Regions from separate parts of the Homo sapiens genome. Here region 2 is linked to region 1. The links are contacts of gene promoters, found by promoter capture Hi-C in human tissues and cell types (Jung and others, 2019). All regions are on one chromosome and are shown on one strand. Each heading gives the region's core, a stretch centred on a gene start or on the middle of the fragment in contact. The rest is flanking DNA. Distances are from core to core; before and after follow the strand shown.

Evidence for each region. Contacts are between HindIII fragments. The study calls those that stand out against the background at their distance.
Region 2: a fragment that was not itself captured here is called in contact with the fragment with the promoter of CDH5 in region 1 in 1 of the 25 tissues and cell types used here (dorsolateral prefrontal cortex).

The regions. Positions count from the first base shown.
Region 1 is chr16:66,362,605-66,369,012 of GRCh38, forward strand. CDH5 (cadherin 5) reads left to right here and starts at 4,087. Exons shown (of 12, transcript NM_001795.5): 1 at 4,087-4,154. LOC105371318 (a long non-coding RNA gene) reads right to left here. Exons shown (of 3, transcript XR_933687.3): 3 at 1,576-2,323. RefSeq lists enhancers at 3,980-4,529, 5,340-6,046. The HindIII fragment of the contact is 33,771 bases long and covers 1-6,408 here.
Region 2 is chr16:65,275,740-65,282,590 of GRCh38, forward strand. The region is part of intron 2 of LOC124903780 (a long non-coding RNA gene); the gene reads left to right. Among named protein-coding and RNA genes, the nearest start is that of LINC02126, 100 kb to the left of the region's middle. The HindIII fragment of the contact is 4,843 bases long and covers 154-4,996 here.

The DNA of each region.
Region 1 (6,408 bases), core at 2,837-5,336:
CAAACAGTGGGCTCTTCCTCCCTGCCTGACGGCCACCTTGAGCTCAGATCCAGGCACCCCAAAGTGAGCCTAGCCCAGTTTCTGCTCGGAGGAGTTCTCAGCTGGGCCTGCAGCTCTCATCACAAGCTTTCTGTTCCTTGTAGAATCACAGCTGAGGATGAGACCCCTCCCTGCTCCTCCTTCCCGCTCTTCCTCCTTCTGAGCCCCTTCTGAGACTACCTCAGGTGAGCAGCCCTATTTTATGTTCCCTGGAGGTGTGTCCGCCCCTCAGCACAGCACAGCCAGCTGGGCAAAAGGGTTTTTCCTTTGCCCGTAACTGAGCAGATGGGCTCATCAAGCCCTCTGCCATCAGACCATCACCTGCCTTAGAACACAAAACACTCGACTCTCCCCCCAGTCTCTCTGACCCGGGGAGCAGCGGGCTGACTGCCGGTTCTAATGAGTGCACAGTTTCAAGTTCACATTTGGGGAGCACTCACCTATTACCAGGTGCTGGGGATAAGCACCCAAATAGGACACAATCCCGGTGGGAAAGGAGAGGAGGGTTGTGAATGAGGTCTGTATAAAGTGCCCTGGGAGCTCAGAAGAGGGAGTGGAGTGTAGAGACAATGAGATCTGGGTGGCTCTGCCAGGGCTCTGCGCACAGGCGAGGAAGGAGAGAGAAGGAAACACACAAGGTGGAACAGCATGGGCAAAGTCCTGAGGCGTGAGGCTGCAGGGCTTCACCACGACCGCCCCTGCCAAGCTGATGGCATCGTTTTCCTGCCCCATCCTTGGGTGTCTCACGCTGTGGGGAGGAAGGAAAAGGAAGTCTTATTTGGGGAACCCCTGCTGTGTCCCGACTCAATTACAGCAGGGCAGGAAAGCTCCCTGGGTAAGGAGCTGGGCTCTGGAAACAGAAGCGTGGCTCGGAATTTCCGCCCCACCACTGACAAACTCTGATCTCAGAAAGGCTTTCACTCCCAGCCTCTGTTTTCCCATCTGTAAAATGGGCCTAACAGTAGTACCACCCCCGCAGGGTTGTCCTGAGGTTTGAATGAGGAGTCCCAAGGAGAGCTTAGTGCATTAGCAGCAGACACAAAGGCTGTGGTCCTCAAATGTAACAACACAAACACGTTTCCTGGGGAGCTACAAACACATAAGTCCTGGGATTCTATCACCAGCCATTCTGACCCCATCAGCCTGGAGTGGGGCCCAAGAAATCTGCATATTCACTCCCCCTCTCCCAGGATGGATGGCTTGAAGACCACACTTTGAGAAACAGCCACTCGATAAGGCTTGCTGGTCCTGTCATTTATTTTCATTGTCTCATTTCATCTTCCAAACGGCCTGCAAAGTCTGAACAGATAACTCATTTCACAGGTGAGGAAAGAAGCTCAGAGAGGCAAGTCGGCTGCCCAGGTCATGCAGGCAGCAACGGGTCATGCTAGGATCCAAACCTGGGTCTGCAACCCCCACACCTGTACCTCCCCAAGCAGCGCTCCCTGTCGGGTCAGGCTTCCTCCTGGCAGAGGCCAGGTGGGCGTCCCCAGGCCTTGTCGTCCCACCCGCCATCCCACCCCCACTGCCTCCACTGTTGCTTCCTCCTCTGCTACTAATCTGGTCTCACAGACCATCCCATTTCCTGCTAGCCCACCAGCCGCCTTCCTTGCTCCCAATGACACTTCCTGGCCTTGTGCCCTCCTGTTACCTCCTTTGCCTCCAGAGAGGTTGGAGCAGAGGCTGGGCAGTGCCAGAAATCAGGCATGAAATCCTCAGGGGGACCAAGGAGGCACCAGCCTCCCTCCCACAGTCTCAGCTACCTCTGCTACGGTGACCCCCAGCCCCACCCCTGGGGCCCACAGCTCATGCCTGGCTCACCATTCCTTTGTTTATGGACCACAGGAACAGTCGTTTTCAGGGCAGAGTCAACTTCCTCATGGACTGGGAGTACAAAGGGAATTGGCAGATGGTGCCAGGACAGGCCCTGTCCCCATCTGCCACAGCCCCGAGTCTGAGACCCAGCAGGAAGCAATGCACAGGCCAGTGTATCCCCATGGGCACGTAGACCATGAGGACAGGCGGGGGTGAGGGGGATGTGGACTGGAACACAGGGGACAGAGCACTGTCCTGGCTCCTCTGCGGCCAACCCCCCCTCTGGGCAGGAGAAAGCAGAGTTAATCCCATTGGAGAAGGAAGCGCTGAGCTGTTGTTTGTTCATTCCACAATCGGCTGTTGAATGTGTTGGATCCCACTCAGAATTCCGCCCCAAGGACTGTTCTCCTTCCAGCAGGTCGCTCCTCAGTCTCCAGCATCATCTGTCTTCCCGTCTGCTGGATGCTCCCTGGGGACATGAGCGTGCTGCCATAGTTAAAAAAAAAAAAAAAAAAAAAAAAAAAAAACCCTCCCACTTCTCTGCTCCCATTCACTGTAAGACTTGGGGAAGAAGCTACAGTCACACGTGACTCCACATCCCCGTCCCCCTTTCTCCCCTTTCTCTAGCCCCTCCAATCTGTCTTGTCTACCTTTTCCTGTTTAACCTGTTCTGGTCACAGTCATTGATGACCTCATCTTCCAAATCCAAAGTTAAGTCTCAGCCCTCATGCTCCCCAGGCTGACCCACTGACTACTCCCCTGCCCTCCTCCTCTGCCCTCTCCTGGCATTCCTCCTTCATCATGGGACCCTCTTCTAATGGATCCCCAAATGTCAGAGGGTCCAAGTCCTCCCTCCCTCCAAGCTCATCCATGCCCATGGCCTCAGATGCCAGCCATAAGCTGTTGGGTTCCAAACCTCGACTCCAGGCTGGACTCACCCCTGTCTCCCCCACCAGCCTGACACCTCCACCTGGGTATCTAACGAGCATCTCAAACTCAACCTGCCTGAGACAGAGGAATCACTATCCCCTCCTCCTCCAAAAATATCCTTCCATCACACTCCCCATCTTGTGCTCTGATTTACTAAACGGCCCTGGGCCCTCTCTTTCTCAGGGTCTCTGCTTGCCCAGCTATATAATAAAACAAGTTTGGGACTTCCCAACCATTCACCCATGGAAAAACAGAAGCAACTCTTCAAAGGACAGATTCCCAGGATCTGCCCTGGGAGATTCCAAATCAGTTGATCTGGGGTGAGCCCAGTCCTCTGTAGTTTTTAGAAGCTCCTCCTATGTCTCTCCTGGTCAGCAGAATCTTGGCCCCTCCCTTCCCCCCAGCCTCTTGGTTCTTCTGGGCTCTGATCCAGCCTCAGCGTCACTGTCTTCCACGCCCCTCTTTGATTCTCGTTTATGTCAAAAGCCTTGTGAGGATGAGGCTGTGATTATCCCCATTTTACAGATGAGGAAACTGTGGCTCCAGGATGACACAACTGGCCAGAGGTCACATCAGAAGCAGAGCTGGGTCACTTGACTCCACCCAATATCCCTAAATGCAAACATCCCCTACAGACCGAGGCTGGCACCTTAGAGCTGGAGTCCATGCCCGCTCTGACCAGGAGAAGCCAACCTGGTCCTCCAGAGCCAAGAGCTTCTGTCCCTTTCCCATCTCCTGAAGCCTCCCTGTCACCTTTAAAGTCCATTCCCACAAAGACATCATGGGATCACCACAGAAAATCAAGCTCTGGGGCTAGGCTGACCCCAGCTAGATTTTTGGCTCTTTTATACCCCAGCTGGGTGGACAAGCACCTTAAACCCGCTGAGCCTCAGCTTCCCGGGCTATAAAATGGGGGTGATGACACCTGCCTGTAGCATTCCAAGGAGGGTTAAATGTGATGCTGCAGCCAAGGGTCCCCACAGCCAGGCTCTTTGCAGGTGCTGGGTTCAGAGTCCCAGAGCTGAGGCCGGGAGTAGGGGTTCAAGTGGGGTGCCCCAGGCAGGGTCCAGTGCCAGCCCTCTGTGGAGACAGCCATCCGGGGCCGAGGCAGCCGCCCACCGCAGGGCCTGCCTATCTGCAGCCAGCCCAGCCCTCACAAAGGAACAATAACAGGAAACCATCCCAGGGGGAAGTGGGCCAGGGCCAGCTGGAAAACCTGAAGGGGAGGCAGCCAGGCCTCCCTCGCCAGCGGGGTGTGGCTCCCCTCCAAAGACGGTCGGCTGACAGGCTCCACAGAGCTCCACTCACGCTCAGCCCTGGACGGACAGGCAGTCCAACGGAACAGAAACATCCCTCAGCCCACAGGCACGGTGAGTGGGGGCTCCCACACTCCCCTCCACCCCAAACCCGCCACCCTGCGCCCAAGATGGGAGGGTCCTCAGCTTCCCCATCTGTAGAATGGGCATCGTCCCACTCCCATGACAGAGAGGCTCCTCGAGGGCACGCTGGGCCTCCTCGTGGCTCAGAGCAGGGTCGGGGAAGGTGCACCCAGAGGTAGTGCCAAGGGCACAAATGGGCATCTCGGGGCTGAGGGGGGCAGGGCAAGGGCTTGGCTCTCCCAGAAGTGTATTCTCCAACTCAAAAAGGCCCACTGGCCTTCATCAGTGCCAGGCTCAGAGAGGGCAGTATTCTGCCCCAGTTGCCCAGCATGCCGGGGCAGAGGACTGGCACCCAGGCCTTGGCCTCCCCTCGGTGCCTTACCCTTACTGGAGAGGATTTACCAAGGCCTGACACCAGCCTCCTCAGCCCCCTACCCATACGCCACTAAAGCTCTATGCTGGGATCTGGGGAGGGGCCCTGAAAAGGAAGCTCCGAGCCTTGGCCCCTCTCGGTCAGCCAGTGCCCCCATTTCAGGATAGGCAAGCTGAGGCTTGGCTCTGGGCACTTGAGGTCTTGCCTTTCCCTCTGGGCCTTTCCCTGCCCAAACACCATCGGGGCCCACTATGTGTCAAGGGAGCTGTAGTCTGGACAGCGGTCCACCATTCCTCCCACCAGCACCCTTTCAAAGGCTAGAGCATAAGAGCCCCAAGGCCCCCACAGCCCAGGAAGTCCCCCAGAAGCAGGAGGTCTGGGCCAAGAGCCTGGCCTGGAGACAGCTGCCCTGGGTACAGATCCCAGCTCTCCCATTTGCTCTGGGGTGACCTTGGGAAAGTTACCCAGAGTTTCCAAACCACAGTGGGGAACAAGGGATGGTGTGGGGCTCATTATTTTACCATTAACAACTCCACAAGGTAGATACATTCTTTCTTTATATCTCAGTGAAAGCAACTGAGCTTTGGAAACATATGAGCTGGTGTGGGGATTTGAACCAGGATCTCGTACTCCAAAGCCCCAGCTCTCCCCAGGTCTCAAGTGTCTCATCTGTGAAATGGGGAAACAGTGTTTCCTCAGTCAATTGAGTGAAGTGAGCTACATCCCTGGTGCTGGGAATGGCACATAACATGAGATCTTTAAGGAATAGTGGCTGGATTTACCAGCTAGCACAGAGCCGATCCTGGTTGTGAATGTGATAAAGATTTTGGCCCTTGAGGTATGGTCAAACCCCATCACGGAGGGGTCCTCAGGTGCCCAGCAGGTACGAGGAAGGGGGTGCAAGTGAGAGGACATCGCGAGCACCTCTGGGCCTCTGCTCCATGTCAGGCTCCCTCCCCAGCGTGGACGTTTCTCATGTGTGATGGGCAGATAGGATTCTGACAAGAGAGGAAGGGCATTCCCAGGGAGGCAGCTTTGAGGAGTCGAGGGTGTACCTGGAAGGCTCTTTTGCCACAGGCCACTGGAGCCAGGGCCAGAAGCCCTGGTCCATCCTCAGGTGGTGGGAAGCCTGGGACTCTCCTCTGCCTGCCCTAGAGAGCAGCAGGTATCCACCAAGGGGCCCAAGAGCTGCTGAGCCCCTGAGCAGCCCTACCAATTTCAGCTTATGGTGGTGAGGGGTAGGGGAGGTGTATACTGGCCTGGAAGGGGTTAAGCTGCCCGCCTGCAGCCTCAGCCTGAGCTATTGTGTTGCCAAACAAGGGCCGGACATGAGGGCAGGAAGCCAGCAGGGGCCACACATTTTCTGCAAAGTTGGATGATTCACTGCTGACTTGGGGACACCCAGGGGACAGAGGGGACACCATCCCAGGAAGAATCTTAGGCTCATTTTGCCCACATGGACCCATGACTGTTCCCTGTATCCTCTCTCTGCACCCCCTCAGTCACACTGAAGCAACTATGAGAATTCCCATTTGACAGATGGGACCATCGAGGCTGAGGGAAGCTGTGCAGCCAGTCCAAGGTCACACAACCAACACAAGGTAGAAGCAGGGTGAGTGCGGTTCCTTCTGACCCACAGTCCATGCCACACTCCACAGTGAAGCTCAGAGAGGGGGAAAGCAGAGCAGTCCAGGCCACAGAGGCAGGCACAGGGACAAGCCAGGAGCCCAGTGATACCAGGGGAAGGAATGTTCTAGGAGGCAGGGCCTCAGGAGCTTCACCTCTGGCTGAGGAGATACTAAAAAGTCTGTCCTGATCCAGGTTCAAGCTGGTGTTAAGTGGGTAAATCATGGAGGGCTTGCTGGAGGAAGA
Region 2 (6,851 bases), core at 1,325-3,824, 1.1 Mb before region 1:
TGTTGGGGCGGCGAAAATTTTTGGGGGTGGTATGGAGAGAGAATGGGCGATGTTTCTCAGGGCTGCTTCAAGCGGGATTAGGGGTGGCGTGGGAACCTAGAGTGGGAGAGATTAAGCTGAAGGGAGGTCTTGTGGTAAGGGGTGATACTGTGGGGTTGTTAGAAGAAACATTTGTCATATAGAATGATTGGTGATGGCCTGGATACGGTTTTGTATGAATTGAAAAACGAAATGGAATAAGAGAAGGAGAAAAACAGGTATAAAAGGTCTAAGAATTGGGAGGACCCAGGACATCTGATTAGAGAGTGCCTCAGGAGATTCAGCATAGTCCTGCCAGCAAAGATTATTTATTTACTTCAAGAGTTTAGAGTGGCAGTTTGGGGATAGCACCAGGAGATATCAGCTGTGATGGCTTGGAGAAACAGTGTAAACCGGCAGTGTAAACAAGAGCAGGGCACGTATGAGTAGTTGAGAACGATGAATAGGAGTATGACTAGACAAAAGATAGTAGGGATGACAAGTTTTTTTGGGGGCACAGTCTAAGTTGCTCTGGTGTCGAATGAGACTGGGGCCTAATAAAAAGGAGCGTCTATACAGGAGCTTAAATGGGCTCCTGTACACCTTGTAGCATTCTGAGGACAGGCCTGAATTCTGAGAAGCAAAAGTGGTAAAAGTATTGTCCAGTCCTTTTTAAGTTGGTGGCTGAGCTTGGTGAGGTCTGTTTTTAAAAGACCTTTAGTCCACTCTACTTTTCTTGAAGATGGAAGACTGTAAGGGATATAAAGGTTTCACTGAATACTAAGAGCCTGAAAAACTGCTTGGCTGATTTGACCAATAAAGGCTGGTCTGTTATCAGACTGTATAGAGGTGGGAAGGCTAAACTGAGGAATTATGTTTGACAGAAGGGAAGAAATGACTGTGGTGGCCTTCTCAGACCCTGTAGGAAAGGCCTTTACTTATTCAGTGAAAGTGTCTATTTAGACTAAGAGGTCTAATAGTTTAGTTTCCTGACTCGGGACATGTTGAGTAAAGCTAATTTGCCAGTCCTGGGTGGGGGCAAATCCTTGAGCTTGATGTGTAGGGAAGGGAGGGGTCCTGAATAATCCCTGAGAATAGCAGATGGAACACTGAGAAGTTATTTCCTTGAGGATAGATTTCCACCATGGAAAGGAAATGAGAGGTCCTAAGAGGCGGGCTAGTGGCTTGTACTATAGCATAACCTGCCTTTGCTGGTGTGTGGCGATTAGGCCTGGTGGAACTGCCACCAATAAATCAAGCGTGATCAGGGTGAGGAGCAGGAAAGAATGAAATATGGGGAAATGGGGTGAATATCAGGTGGATCAGAGAGATACAGTCATGGGGGTCACGTGTGGTATTAGGAATAATGTGGGAGGCTGGACTGAAGTCCTGGTCAGGAACAATGGTAATTGTGGGACTTAAAGAGTGAGTACAGCTGAAGGAGCCGGGGAGCAGAAAGTATATGCATCAGGTATGAGGAAGAAAATAGATTTTGGAAGTTATGAGAACTGTAGAGAGTGAGTTGAGCATAGTTTGTGATTTTTAGGGCCTCTAACAGTATTAAAGCAGTGGCAGCCGCTGCACGCAGACATGAGGGCTAGGCTAAAACAGTAAGGTCAAGTTGTTTGGACAGAAAGGCTACAGGGTGTGGTCCTGGCTCTCGTGTAAGAATTCTGACCACACTAACCATGCCTAGGAAGGAAAGGAGTTGTTCTTTTATAAGGGATTGAGGTTTGGGAGATTAATCAGACACGATCAGCAGGGAGAGCACGTGTGTTTTTATGAGAATTATGCCGAGATAGGTAACAGATGAGGATGAAATTTGGGCTTGACTGAAGTAATGGGGGCTGTCTGTGAAGCCTTGCGGCAGTACAGCCCAGGTAATTTGCTGAGCCTAATGGGTGTCAGGGTCAGTCTAAGTGAAGGCAAAGAGAGGCTGGGATGAAGGGTGCAAAGGAATAGTAAAGAAAGCATGTTTGAGATCCAGAACAGAATAATGGGTAGTAGAGGGAGGTATTCAGGATAGGAGAGGATACGGGTTTGGCACCACGGGGTGGATAGGCAAAACAATTTGGTTGATAAGGCACAGATTCTGAACTAACTTGTAAGGCTTGTCTGGTTTTAGGACAGGTAAAATGGGGGAATGGTAGGGAGAGTTTATAGGTTTTAGAAGCCCATGCTGTAGCAGGCGAGTGATAACAGGCTTTAATCCTTTTAAAGTGTGCTGCGGGATGGGATATTGGCATTGGGTGGGGTAAGGGTGATTAGGTTTTAATGGGATGTAATGGGCATGTGATCGGTTGCCAGGGAAGGAGTAGAGATGTCCCATACTTGTGGGTTAAGGTAGGGGGATATGAGAGGAAGACGCGAAGGAGGCTTTCGGTTGGGGAGAAGGGTGGCAATGAGATGTGGCTGTAGTCCAGGAATAGTCAGGGAAGCAGATAATTTAGTTAAAGTGTCTCAGCCTAATAAGGGAACTGGGCAGGTGGGGATAACTAAAAAGGAGTGCTTAAAGGAGTATTGTCTAAGTTGGCACTAAAGTTGGGGAGTTTTAAGAGGTTTAGAAGCCTGGCCGTCAATACCCACAACAGTTATGGAGGCAAGGGAAACAGGCCCTTGAAAAGAAGGTAATGTGGAGTGGGTAGCCTCCGTATTGATTAAGAAGGGGACGGGCTTACCTTCCACTGTGAGAGTTACCGGAAGCTCGGCGTTCGTGATGGTCTAGGGGGCTTCCGAGGCGATCGGGCAGTGTCAGTCTTCAGCCGCTAAGCCGAGAAGATCTGGGAAGGAGTCAGAGAGCCTTGGGCCAGAGTTCCAGGGGCTCTGGGAGTGGCTGCCAGGTGAGTTGAACAGTCCAATTTTCATTGGGGTCCCACACAGATGGGACGCGGCTTAGGAGGAATCCCGGGCTGCGGGCATTCCTTGGCCCAGTGGCCACATTTCGGGCACGTGTAGCAAGCTCCTGGGGAAGGAGGTTCTGGAGGAACGCCTGGCCGCTGCGGTTCAGGCGTTTGGAAGTTCTTGTGTGCTGGAGATGTGGCTGGGGTTTGTCTCACAGTGGAGGCAAGGAATTGTAACTTTTTTCTGTTATTGTACACCTTGAAGGTGAGGTTAATTAAGTCCTGTTGTGGGGTTTGAGGGCCAGATTCCAATTTTTGGAGTTTTATTTAATGTCGGGAGCAGATTGGGTAATAAAATGTATACTTCAGGCCATCTGGGCGTATATGTGCAAGTCACAGGGGATGCGACGGCTTGGCTTGGGCTCAAAGGCCTGACACCAGTTTGCCTTGGGTCAGGTCCAATAAACTACGATGAGGGTATGAGCTTGCAAAGTGATTCACGTGGATGCCTTGGTTTGCAACATGTGCAGGTTGTGGTGGCAGGGATAGTGGTGGAGTTTTCTTAGAAAGATATGAGTAGGAAGCAACAGTCCTTATTTCTGAGAGAGTCTTACAGTTGCCTAAGATCTCACCACTATAGATCCCAAAGTCTATGGTCAGAACAAAATCTATCTGGATGTGAAGTCCCTGATCTTGCTGACATATCTGGTAAAGGCAGCATAAGGCTGACTCTCAGAGAAGCTGGTCTCTTGTTCAAGGTCACACGTCAGTAGGAAATGCAAGAGAGTGTTGTTCACCATTGTTAACTCTGTCCAACAGTGGAACATGCTGGAGAAGAGCCCATCCAGGCATTCATTTCGATCAGTTGTATTAACAGAGTTGCAGAATTTAGCTGGGTTCCATAGTTAAACTGATGTGGATTCAGGTCCAGAATCTGCCTTTTGTCAACTGTGTGATACTAGGCCAGTTAATCAATGGATAAACAAAGTACTAGTTCTGGGAATCCAATCCCTGGATTCTAGGAACCTCAGTTAATCTGAAATGAGGATTTTCAGCAATATCCTCTTTCAAAGCCACTCCCAATCTCAAATTCTGATAAGGGTCTTATGCAGGAGTTGGCAAACAATATCCCATCAGTCAACTCCACCCATTTTTGTAAATAAAGGTTTATTTGAACACACCCACACTCATTCATTGGCATACATGGCTGCTTTTGCACTACAATGGTAGAGTTGAGGAGTTGCAACAGAAAGTGAATGACCTGGAAAGCATAAAATATTCACTGTCTGACTCTTTACAGAAAAAGTTGGCTGACTCCTGGCCCAAAGGGAATTTATTTATTTCTGCCTTCAACTCCCATGCTGTTTTGCGCAGTTCTTGCCTTTCCTTGGTATTGTTCCCCTTCCTTTTATGAAAACTTAGAGACCAATCTTTGAACATATTCTCCCTGGGATCAAATCCCAGCTCTGCCACTCACAAATGGTGTGAGCCTTGGAAAGTCCCATTAATTTCCTAAGCTTTAGTGATCTCTAGAAAATAACATTAGACAGATGTATGCCATAGTGTTTTTCTGTGACTTCAAAGGTATAGTCCATGGAAGCTGCTTAGAAAGTGTCCAGGGGATGTTAGCTACTATTACGATGACTGTTCTTTTCTTTTTTAAAAAAAGTTATTTTTATTTGCACAAATTAATGGAGTATATGTGAAATTTTCTTATATGTATATAATGCATAGTAACAAGTCAGGGAACTTAGGGTGTTCATCACCAGTGCACACTGCATTTGTCTTAACTATAGTCACCCTACTCTGCTATCAAATATTGATTTTATTTTCTTAATTAATCACTCTGGGCAAGTTTCCATCTCCATGTTTCTTAACTAAGGAGTTTGACACTTAATACCTGGTAGCTCATGGTTAATACATGGTCTGGCCCAGAGTAAACACATTATAGGAAAAAGAGATATCTATTTTAATCCTCACAACATTCCTACTTTGGTGACAATATCACTGTATTTCACACAGGAGGAAAATCAGAGTTAGGAAGGTAAGCATCTTACCCCAAATCCCAAACCCTGTGAAGATCAGAACCAGGATTCAACCCCAAGGTTAAGGCCGTCCTCTACACCACCTAGAAATGCCAAAGTTCATAAGGAAACAATAATCCAGAGAGTTACCTTTCAGCACAGTGATCCATTTATTTCCAGTTTTTTCTTTCTTTTTGCATGATTTTCTTTTATACATAGTTGATATCTGTTTGTTTATGAATGAGTATAACTTTATATCTTGCTTTTTAAAAATACACTATTACAGATGTATTATCATCAGAAACTCTTGGTAACCATAGCTGTAAATGACTTAATAGTCTGCATAGTATCAGTACAAAGTATGAATATGTACATCAGAATTTATTCACACCAGATTTCCAGCCAACCACGTGTTACACCCCCCTTAGAGCAGGAATAGGTACAAAAGCCTGCTGTCTGCAAGTGCCAGGGAGGACTCGCAGGATGCCTCTGCCCATTCTCTCCCCAGAACAATGAGTCCCAGACAGTGCACAGAGGCCCAGATTCCTGAGACCGCCCAGTCCAGGCAAGGAGTCAGGTCTCCCGGCCGTCCTCCTTAGGTTAATCAGAAGCAGGCACGCTCTGCTGAACTGGCTACTCAAAAGAGAATACAAATGCCTAAGTCTCAGGGATAGAAGGTGGGCTCCACCAAAAACACACATACACCCTCCCCTTCCTTTCCCCCAGCACAGGAAGCTTCAGGCTAAAGGCCTATATGCCTCTCATGCATCCATATTCTGCATCTCCACCCCCTTCCCCAGCCGTGGGGGTTGAAGTTTCATTACATATCTCAGGAGGGGTCGTCATTCTTTTTCAATGAACATCTGGCCTAAGAGATCTCCTAATTAAAACCACCAACTAATTATTATCACCTACTCTTTCCACTTGTTGTTTATGATTTCCGTGTACTCCCACCTCACCCCCAAAACACATGGATTCCTTCAGGAATGGTTAGTCTCTCTTAGCTCCCCCCACCCACTTTAATGAGTCTTATGTCCCAGCCTTGTTTCTCAAGGAACTGGAGGTCTGGGACCCTGATTACTACCAGGGTTTCCAATTGCCTATTCTCCCCCTGGCCTTTCTGAAAGGATCTATTGAGAAAGAGGTCATGATTAAAGCCCTCAGAACAAGCAAAGTGTAATTGAAGCAGTGCCTGGCGCCTCTCTGCTTAACCTCCCTCCCCATAAACTGCAGCCAAGCACAGCAGGCTGCAGACCCCCTTCCTACATCTCTCTCTACAAAGGAAAAGTGAAGTGTGAAGTGGGGGCGGGGCCATCCCAAGTCTCTGCAAGCCAAAAATGCAGGTAGCTAAGAGGAAACATCTTTGACACGTGATGAAGATATTTGGGAAAATCGATGCAGAAAAAAATTATGTCAGACTTGTCACAAAGAGAGTGAAAAATGTATTTATATTGCATACACTTTGGGTTCATACATGCAACTCAGACATTAAAGGTTATGAGGGACCCCTCAGGAGGGTGGTATGATGTGGTAGAAGGAGGCTGTGCTTCTGAAATGTTCTGAATCCTCAAGATGCCCAGTATTGCCCTGGCTGTAAAAAATCTTGGAGTAGTTACTTCATTTTTAGCTTCATTTTCTTGCAAAACTCTTCCTTGCAAGGTACTGGGGAGGACTCAAGAAGCTGGCTTGAGTATCTAATACAGTCTGTGCATAAAGCTGTTTACTCATTGTAAATGTCTATCTTTTCTTTTCCACACATGCATGCACGTGTGTGTGCGCACAGGCACACTGAAACACCAATAGTTATAAAGCATATAAGCTAGGTACCATTATTTTAACTTGAGGGAATAATGGCTAAGATATGATTATTATTAAGAAGGGAATCAAGCCTTCCTTGGAAGCTACCTCAAGAGCTCTTAACATATTACTACTCTTGGACGCTGATAAGTGCACTATGTTGCATATAGAA